Regions from separate parts of the Homo sapiens genome. Here region 2 is linked to region 1. The links are contacts of gene promoters, found by promoter capture Hi-C in blood cells and fetal thymus (Javierre and others, 2016). All regions are on one chromosome and are shown on one strand. The core of a region is centred on a gene start or on the middle of the fragment in contact, and the rest is flanking DNA. Distances in the headings are between cores, read along the strand shown.

Region 1 (5,258 bases), core at 1,286-3,785:
AAATATATACTCAAGTATATAATGAAAGATGATAGGTCACCAGATTGGAAATTTATTCTTAAATAATTTAGGAAAAGGAAAAGTTGTTTTACTGTACTTGCAACTTTTCTGTAAGTTTGAGATGCCTTGAGACGATATATATATATAAGTATATATATATTTAAACCACATCTCTCTCTCTCTCTCTCACACACATACACACACACACACACACACGCATACATATATACATATATATCGCTATTGTATCAACAACTGCAAAATCTTCTTAATGGTCAGCCATGGTCTGATACATTCTAACTCCAACTCACTTTCCCGTCCTATTTAGTCAATTCCTCAACCCAGTTCCCTAACCACACTGAACACTTGGATAGTTCCTTTTCTTTCCTCTGTCCCTCAAACTGTCACATCCTTCCTCCTCTCCCAAACTTAATCTCCATCTAATGAAATCTTACTGTTCTTCAAGGTCCATTCCAAATTTTCCCCAAGCTCCCGAAGCCTTTTCTGATTCCCCCAAAGGATGTTACTCCCCCTCCTTTATCTCCTTTGCGGCGCTTTAATTACGTGTGTACCTATGTCATTTTCCGTGACACATCAGTAAACATGTTGAGGGCTGGGACCATGTCTACTCCTCCCTGCAGACATTCAGAGCACTTTCTCAGTATAAGCTTACACACTGAAAACACTCCATTTAGAGAATTATGTGGTATCTTGACTTAAGTATTTGTTGTACTCAGGACATCACATGTATATGAAGTCCTCTTATTACATTTCAGAAGACAGAAACTGCAATGTTATTTAATTGCTTTTTATTTTTATTATTGTGACAATGCCAATATTCCAAGAGCCTGTAATAAAGGCTCTCAGCATAAATGGTCTACTATCTAACACCACCAGAACCCTTTTGGCATCTTTTGCATCTGGATACTTTTGCTCTATGCATGAGTGGGATGTATGGTCATTCCTTTTATGCAATCATGTAGTAGGCAAAACAATGGCTCCCTCAAAGATGTCCACATCTTAATCCCAAGAATCTGTGATTATGTTAGTTTATATTGCAAAGGAGAATTAAGGCTGCAGATTGAATTAAGGTTGCTAATCAGCTTGCTTTTAAATATGGAGAGCATCCTGGATTATCTGTGGGAGCCCAGTGTAATCATGAGGCTACTTAAAAGTGAAAGCGGAAGACAGAAGAAGAGTCAAGAGTGAAATGTGACCCCGGAAGAACTTTCAGAGGCGCAATGTTGCTGGCCCTGAAGATGGAGGAAGGGCTGCTGAGCCAAATAAGGTAGGTGGCCTCCGGAAGATGGAAAGAGGATTCACCCCAAGAGCTTCCAGAAAGGAAGGCAACCCTGCCAACACTTTGATTTTAACCCAGTGAGACCTCAGTAGGACTGCTACAGAATCCTAAGATAGTAAATTGTGTATGTGAGTGTGTGTGTGTGTGTGTGTGTGCGCGCGCGCGCGCGTTCCTATGTGTTTAAGCCACTAAAGCCATGTAATTTGTTATGGCAGCGAATTAAAAAAACTGATACAAATCAACATCACCGTATTTCCGTAATACAATCATATAACTGCGGTGCCAGGCCGTGTAGAATCGAATCTTCCTATATGCATGCGTGGCAGCAAAAAGAAAGGCAATAGAACGTCTGCCTGTTGTACAGACTGGAAACACAGTATTCTCCTTCGGATGTCTCCTTCAAGAAAAACCTTGCCTATTCTGACACGCCAGCCATGACTGCACAACACTGCCCCTACCAAGAATCGTTTTCTTAAGAAATCCGTTTTCCTAAGGACTATCTCCAGAGACACTCGGAGAAAACAGCGAGGGCCGGGCGCGGTGGCTCACGCCTGTAATCCCAGCACTTTGGGAGGCCGAGGCGTGCGGATCACGAGGTCAGGAGATCGTATCCATCCTGGTTAACACGGTGAAACCCCGTCTCTACTAAAAATACAAAAAAAAAAATTAGCCAGGCGTGGTGGCGGGCGCCTGTAGTCCCAGCTACTCTACTCGGGAGGCTGAGGCTGGAGAATGGCGTGAACCCGGGAGGCGGAGCTTGCAGTGAGCCGAGATCGCGCCACTGCACTCCAGCCTGAGCGACAGAGCGAGACTCCGTCTCAAAAAAAAAAAAAAAAAAAAAAAAGAGAGAAAACAGCGAGGAAACACAAATAACTTTATGTTTCAATTTCCTCAATGAAGCAAAGCAAACAAGTGACAAGGCTCGAAGCCCTGACGGCCCAGAGACTGCACAGCGGGCCCAGGAGCAGGTGCGCCCCCTCGAAGGCGGCGTGGCCTCCGCGACTCGGCTGCGGGCAGCTCCCGGGGAGCAGGGTCTCAACTCCGGCGCTGTCCCACTTCCGTCGGCGCTGAGGGCTCCCACCTCCCTTTCCACCCCCGGCTCTCCAGCCCGGGACTGCCAGCGGCGGGAGTGGCAGCCGGGGAAGGGACTCCCCACTCACCCGCGTCCGCCCGCCGAGCGCAGCTCCCCAAGGCCCAGCGCGCCTGCCCTTCCCGGAAAACAGCAGCGCCTGAAACGCCGGAACCCCGGGAGGCACTGGGAGGGGAAGGCCCGGGTTCTCGAAACTGTCGCTGCCTCCTGCAGAAGCGCCGCGGGAGAGCTGCGGGGTCTTCCTGAGGAGGTGGCCCTCGCAGGAACAGCTGGGTTCCCCGCGAAAAGAAAAAGACAGTGAAAAAGAAAACTGCTTTAACGGCGATTTTTCTTTAGCATTTAACCAATGCTCAAATACTAAACATGGTTGTCTCCAATGATTAGTCACTAACAGAAAAAAAAACTAATTTCACTTTCGATTTTTAAAAAGGGGTGGTTTTGCGGAGGAAAGCAGAAGTATACCTGAAGTTTCCGTACACACTAATTTTAGGGAACGCTTTCTAAAACCAGTTTTTTGCATGTATTTTATAAGGTATGTTGGAAAAGTGGATAGAAACCAAATAAAGTCAAAGCAGGAATCGCTCTTCATCAGATTGTAACTCTTTTGTAATTTCTTAGTCATTGTAACACTAGTTGACAAATGTTTACAGTCAGCACAAGATCGGCGTTTCTGTGTCTTTTGTAACATCCCCCGGGGCCATGAAGTTGGGAAAGCTGTGGTGTTCCTGTTGGTTTCTGTGACCCATGTCCCTTGAAAGTTTTCTTATAATCTCTTGTTTTGTTGTGGAGCTTGTAAATAAATACTTCACTAGGTGTGAACTTTTCCTTTGAAAATTCAAACATCTGGTTTATTTCAAGAACTGCAGTGTCTCTTAATCCCACACAAAGAACCACCCCACAGCTGCCCCGGCTCATAAATACAGATGTGGGAAGAAAATGAGTCAAAATTATTTCAAGGCATAAATTATAGGTTATCATGCTACCTAGTCACATATAATAACTGATACAGTGGTCTAAAATAGTTTAACAAAAGTAAAATTTCTTTGTATCAAAAAGGTTGATGGGAACCAGTTTAAAGTGGTGACATTTCTCTTTTTTTTTTTTTTTTTTGAGATGAGTCTTGCTCTGTTGCCCAGTCTCCAACTCCTGAGCTCAAGCAGTCCTTCCACCTCCACTCCCAAGTAGCTGGGATTACAGGAATTCACGACCGCACCCAGATTTTTTGTACTTTTAATTTGGGTGCTGGGGGCAGGTATCTAACTGTTTCCCAGGCTGATCTTGAGCTCTGGCCCAAGTGATCCCACCACCTCAGCCTCCTGTAAAATGGCATTTCTAAGTAAAAAAAACGACTTCTTTGTGCTTATCAGACCAGTTAGAAAATACAAAAACTCCTTCTGCTGCAACTTGAGAAAGAATTACTTTAGTTTTACCTTGAAATTTTAGAGGGAATATGAACTCTCGAGGTTATTTAGTTGAACCTCATTTCTTCTTATTTTTATTTTTTACAAGAAGATACTAAAGGACAGGACCATGGCCAGAACAGGACTAACTTAATATATTGACTCAGATTCTGTTTAAAAGGCAAATGATACAGGTGGAGGGGAAGTCTTTTTGGACACCTACATTCTAAAGCTGAGACATGTACTAACAGTCTGAATTTAACTCAGCTTCAAATCTGGTATTCTGCAAAGTGTTAGAGATCTGAAGATGAAGAGTTGGCTCCTGGACATACTATTAATAATTGTAATTGCTAACATCTACTAAGAACTCCTGGACATTTTATAAACCTTTTTGTTTTGCCAACAACAATATTAGATATAGGTATTATTCCCATTTCTTTTCACCTGTCTGAAGCAGGCAGGAAGGTATTATCCCCATTTTGCAGTTGAGGAAACTAAGGCATAAAGAGGTGACCCAAAATCAAGCAGTTAATATATGGTGACAATGATATCATACTCTACTCTCAACAATATCTCCAAACTGTGTCCTAGGGTACATGGAGAACATGGAATTTTATGGCCCAATACAATTAGGAAATGCTGCATTCTGAATCCACTTTTGGAAATTCACAATGCACATTGGCACATTAAGAGTTCCAAGAAGTATTGCAGGGAAAAATTAAAAATTTGTGCATATTAAAAATTTTAACTTTATTCAACCTTGAACTTATCAAATCAATTTGAGCGATATATTCTTTTTTTCAAGGAACAGTTATTAAAATCTTGGGGAGTTTCTGATGGGACCTTTCGAGGAATGCTCTAGTAAATTACGCCCTCTCCTAATATAAAAGTTATTTATTGATGTTATCATGCACTCAATAAATATGTTGCACATGAGCTGCAGCACTCTGTGCCTTGGATATCTCATGTAAATCTACACAGATGTGAGGTGAATATTATGTTACACATTTGTCTCCCTGACTACATGGCAATGAACTCCTCCCAGGCTTTCTATAAAGACACACACACACACACACACCAGTATTACATACAGTCTAATGTGTGTTGGAAGGGGTAGGATACCAGAAGTAGTAAAAAACAAAGGAGAGCGTAGTCCCCTCTACCTGAGGAGGTCAGGGAAGTTTCCTTCACAGAAGAGGTGAAAATTGAGTTGATTCATTAAGGTAGAGAAAGTAGACTGAGAAGAAAGATCGGGTGAAAAATCTCAGAGGGATGTGCAATGGACTAAATGTTTGTGTTCCTCCAAAATTCGTATGTTGAAATCCTAACCCCCAAGGTGACAGTATTAGGGCTGGGGCCTTTGGGAGATGATTAGGTCATAAAGGGTGGAGCCTAAATGAATGAGATTAATGCCCTTATCAAAGAGGTCCAAAGGAGTTTGTTGACCTCTTCTGCCATGTGAGGACAC
Region 2 (5,258 bases), core at 964-3,463, 3.4 Mb before region 1:
GAAAATGGAAGGCTTACACATATTCCTTTGACCAACTCATAAAGATAGGAGAACTACATGAGATCATTCAGACACCTTTAATACCGACTTGGGACTTTGTAACTGTTCCAACATCAGTCAAATTCTGAGCATCACGATTTGAGAACTGGCAATCTTGGAGAGATTTAAAGAGCCACGTTGATTATTAATAACCCTGATAAGTTGTAGAAATGGGCAGATAATTACAGGATGAACTTAATAGACAGAAATACAGAGTAATTTAGAGGAAGTAAACTGCTGTAAATATAAGTGAGAAGACTTGGCTTTGTGGGAAAAGGTGGGAATCAGTAAACCACAAATGAAACATGAATTAGCCATATTATACAGTTGTTTTATTAAAAACCAAAACTTTGTAGAGTACATTAACAGAGACTGTATTTAAGAGAAAGGCAGTCATCCCTTAGTCATTTATACAATTATTTATTAAGCACTTATGTGCTAGTTGATACTTCTGGGTGCTGGAATAAAATAAGGAAAAAATCAAGATCTCTACCTTCACGAAGCTCACTAAAGTGTGGTAAATGACAGAGCAACTACCTTCAATAGTCTCTAGTTTGTATTCTGCAACCAACTGAATACAGCAAATACTAAAAGCTACTTGAGGTAGGGATCCATCCTATTTTTACCTGTTGGATCCCATTCCGTGCCTAGCACACCAGCTTGTAAGCAATCGACATGGATTAAGGGGTAAAAACAGGCCCTTAAATAGCTAAAATTTTGACAAGTAATCACTTGTCTGATCATCAAATATGTCGTTCGAAATCCTCATTTTTTTCTTCAAAGCGCAGTAAACAAGTATTTGCGCACCTATTACGTGCAAAACAGTTTTCAACACAATGCTTTGTGTGTAAAAGGAACGGCGGGAATGGATTCAAGTTGCGCATCGTGATAAATGGCGTGAATATCCTGAGCGGGTGGACAGCCCTTCCTCCGTGAGTTTTTTCTTTTTCTTTTCTAGTCACCAAGACAGCACGCGTGTGCAGAAGCTGCAGCGGTGGGACGCAGTGCTAAGTCTGGGGGCGCACACACCAGCTCGCGCGTCGCGAGCTCGCCTGGGCAGCTCGGCGGGCGCGGCGAAACAGCTCCCACGTCCGCCTTCCACCGACTCCTCGGTATCAGAGCGGACGAGGCGTCCCCCCAGAGGAAAGACTGGGCGCCGCAGACGCCCCTTGGAGAAGTCCCTGGCCACTCGCCCCACCTCGGGGTCCTCTTCCTCTTGGGCTTCTCCTGACCCTTTGGGTGGGCGCTCCAGACAGGCCCGTCGGACGCGATTTGGAAACGGGTCGTGCCCGGCCTAGCCCGCATCTACTCGCCCGGCCACAGCCCAGCCACAGCTTAGGGACTTTGAGGCGCCCGCGCCCCTTTGTCGCGGTATCTCTAGCCCAAGCAGGCCGGACGCCGAGGCCTCGCGGTATCGAGCCTCCGTCCGCCCCGCCTCCTCGCCCTCCACTCCGCCCCGCCCTCGCTCTCTCACCCCTCCCCCGCTCCCGCCTCGCTTCCCCGACAATCTCCTCGCGCTCCCGGCCCGGCACGCGCGCTGCGCCCGGCCGCCGCTGCCGCCGCCGCCGCCGCCGCCGCTGCCGCCGAGCGTTCCTCCGCTGCGCCTGGCTTCCAGCTTCGGGCCGGAACCGGAAGTTTGGGGGGCGGAGCCCGGCGGAGGCCAGGAGACCGAAAACGCGGCCGAGCCCGGAGCCCGGAGCTGGAGCCAGAGCCTGGACCAGAACTTGGCCGCCGCCTGCACCGCCGCCGCCGCTGCCGCCCGCCGCCCCTTCCCCGCGCCGCAGCCGCCTCGCCGCCACCGCCGCGAGCTCGGCCGCCAGTGGTCCTCGGACTTTAGGTGTCTGGGTTGAAGGTCGGTCCGGACATCGGACCCAGTCAGTTCCCAGACTGTCCGGGCGGCAGCGGACGCCGCTGCCGCCGCCGCCTCTTCGTCGCCTCAGCCTGGCGTTTTGTTCCGAGAGACGGGAGAGGCGAGCGGAGCTGACAGTGATTTTGACAGTGATTTAAACCCGCTTTTGTTGTTGTTGGCTTTTCGTTGTTTGGTTTTGTGTGTTGTGCGTGTGTGTGGCGGTTTTTCCCCCGTGGTGCATTTTATTTTTTATCGTTGTGCTCTTTTTTTTCTTTTTTTTTTTTAACCCAGTGAGCGTTTTTTTTTTTTTTTTTTTTTTTTTTTGGTCTGGGCTTCCGAATATGTTTTATGACGGTTGATTTTACACCAGGAGGTTTGTCTCCGAGGAAGACCCAGGGAACTGGATATCTAGCGAGAACTTCCTCCGGATTCCCCGGCGCCTCGGGAAAATGGGAGCTGCTGCAAAGTTGGCGTTTGCCGTCTTTCTTATCTCCTGTTCTTCAGGTAGGTGCAGGGAGCGCGGCGCGGTGGGGCTGCTCCTGCGGCCGCGGCGGCCGCTGCTGGGGGCCGCGGCTGGTGTTGAGTCGGAGAGTCCAGTGGAGCCTGGGGAGGTTGCCCACTCCCTGCGCCCCTCGGCTGCCACCGCCCCCCCCCCCCGCCCCCAGGTCTGATTGTGATCTGGAAACCTCCATGCATTTTTCTCTTTTTGAGTTGGGTCGGCGAGCTGATAAGAGTGAGTGCTGTGTTGTTGTGGAAGTGAGAAAGTCATGTTTTGTGGCCATAACACTGGATGACAGCGCTGGTTGGGTTGCAATTAAGCCGCAAATACCACAAGTGACAATTTATGCAAAGGTTGAGATCTGAAAGGAGTATTTAGTGTGGGCTCCTCCAAAACAAGGGTTGCTTTTTGTCATCGTTTAATTAGTGCTTCACCGGTGAATATCACGACATAGATCAAGCCAGTTGCTGCTTAATTTTGGCTGTGGGAAACAATACATCCTATCAGCAATTTAATCTGGGTCTCCCCTCACGTTTTCTTCAACTTCAGCGTCCAGCAGTGTTAAAAATAGTTGTAGTTGTTGTTGGAGTATTAACTATAACCCAGTGCAGAAGAGGTATGCCGCTTGGTATTGGTAATGTGCTGGCGTTCAACCACCATTTGTGTGCTCTTTTGGGGCATAGATTTTGCTTACCTACGGAATACTTATTTTAAACGCTTTGTATTGAAGCATTGTTTTCGGTTTAGAACAACCCATGTGAAATTGTTTTTGTTAAATATAGTACACTCATAAAATAGGTTTTAGCTCAAGGTTGGGGGAATAAACGGGCCATTTTATATTGGAAATTTTGATTTTGTGAGGACGTTCTATGGTTGCAACCAGTGGTTGGAAAAACTATCTAGTCTTTTGTATTTGAAATTCTATAAATAAATACAGCATCTAGCTGAAAGGTGTGCAGATGTACATAACAGGAGAGTTAGTTCAATAGATGAAACATTTTAAATAAGTCTCATTGGATCTATTTATTGTAAAATTTAATATTCAGTTACAAGCTTGTGGCATAGAATTACGGGGGACTCTTGGAAACGGGGGCGAATTGACAGGTTTCATGGCCATGTCTTTATCTCGTTTGCCACAGGAAAATTAAAGGGTGGTAGTCTTCTTTGTGTACCTCTGTGGGGTGTGTGTGTGTGTGTTTGTGTGTTTGTGTCCGTCTTCCCCACCCCCCTTTAAATATAATCTTTTGTAATGTATAGAATTTTGCTGAATGGTACATTTCCTTGTGGTTAATAAATGGATAAAGTCTAGTCTTATGTCTGTAGTGGTATTGATCAGTTCCGGGTGGGCTGAATGTGTTGTGAAATGGCGATCATTGCCAGAGATTAACCAAAAGAATCATGTCTGTTTAAATGGAAGAAGGAACATGCTTAAGGCAGGCTGACAGTTCTTTTTGTGCACGGTTTGGGAAGGAAGCTAAACAATGGTGTGTCTGAAATGAATGAAGGCCTTGATAACATTAAACCTCTTGCTTTTGTGACATGACTTAACCATGTAGTTTTTATCTTTCCAGTAGTACTCTTTTTTCCTCTGCTTCTATATGTTGTGGCTGGTGAACTCCTCTTGTTCAAATCCCTTGTTCTGATCTCTTGCCCTTGAGGAGGAGGGGCATCATGGCCACTGACCAAGGAATTGTGGACATTATTCCCTCTCAAACCCACCTGAGTCACACTAATTGATGAAGGAGGTTATTCTTGAGCAGTCTCAAGGTATTACTTCTTGAAAAGCAGGCTGTCGCTACAGATCTTACAGCTTCTTCTGCTTGGTTTGGTAGTAAAAATAATTGAGCATTAGTTTCTTGTGGGATTATTTTCATTGGGCCAGGATTATTTTCAGTGGGCCAGGAGGTTAATAGCTATAATTTTGAAATAAAGTGATTTTGTTGCTGTAGGGCATATAGATATTCCACTTATATTAAACTAATATTATGTTGTTGCATAGGCTTTTTAAGATGAACATTCCCAGTTGAACTAAAATATGTGATTCTGTTGAAGATAATTGAAATAATCATAAAGACCTTAATCCATATTTATACATGAACAATTTGAGTACTTAAAATGTCTGATTTTTAAAAGCCTTTTGTTATGGATCAGATGCACTCTAAAAAAGGATTATTATGTTTCTCCAACTAATTGATTTTTCTACAAAATGTGTGATCTGACATGTTGGAAGCATGAGGTGACTATTTTTATGAGAATTTTAAAAATTCTCAGGTTGTCAGTTTTTCATTTCTAGATATTTGATTTTTTTTAAAAATCAAAATGGGAAACAATAGTAAGGAACAGTTTTGTTCCAGGTGTTTAGGAGGGATGTTTACTATTTCGTGGACTCTGATTTTTCAGTTTCCATCCCATGGTATGTATTCTGGAGACTGATTATGCAGACTATTCCTGTAGGATATGGCCAAGTGTATAATTTCCTCCTCTCTCTCATTCCAGGGGAAACATTTTAAATTTTGCCCCTATCCTGGAGTGCCTTCAGATTACCTTTGATTTTGAATTTTTTCATTCCTCTCATACTTTCTCAGATTCTGTTTCAAAACATAAATCTTAGTTTTCTTTTTATAGCATTGTGGTTTATTTGTGTCTTTCCCCACAGTTTGTTGAAGTATGAGAATGACTTTAATACTTGCTTTAGTACTTAGATTTATCCTATCTAGAGTTATGCAGCTATTGTGGTATTTGAGTTGCATAGAAGTAAGTTGAGAATTCCTTTGGATTTTGTGGGAGCTGGAGCAGTATGGTCAATGTATTTGATGAAAGAGGAAATGGAAATATGGTAATTATGTTTTCTTCAGTTCAGCTAGGCAGTAC

What was found. Contacts are between HindIII fragments. The CHiCAGO score rates a contact against its expected background, and 5 or more counts as called.
Region 2: the fragment with the promoter of ACVR2A here is called in contact with the fragment with the promoter of NMI in region 1 in 9 of 17 cell types (total B cells, total CD8 T cells, non-activated CD4 T cells and 6 more); the score reaches 14.5 in total B cells.

What each region holds. Positions count from the first base shown.
Region 1 is chr2:151,287,133-151,292,390 of GRCh38, forward strand. NMI (N-myc and STAT interactor) reads right to left here and starts at 2,536. Exons shown (of 8, transcript NM_004688.3): 1 at 2,461-2,536. RefSeq lists enhancers at 1,085-1,254, 2,055-2,104, 2,125-2,174, 2,565-2,644, 2,705-3,124 and a silencer at 2,305-2,504. The HindIII fragment of the contact is 4,870 bases long and covers 667-5,258 here.
Region 2 is chr2:147,842,816-147,848,073 of GRCh38, forward strand. ACVR2A (activin A receptor type 2A) reads left to right here and starts at 2,214. Exons shown (of 11, transcript NM_001616.5): 1 at 2,214-2,392. The coding sequence starts at 2,338. RefSeq lists an enhancer at 564-1,314 and silencers at 1,441-1,630, 1,711-1,820, 2,576-2,655. The HindIII fragment of the contact is 3,923 bases long and covers 1-3,438 here.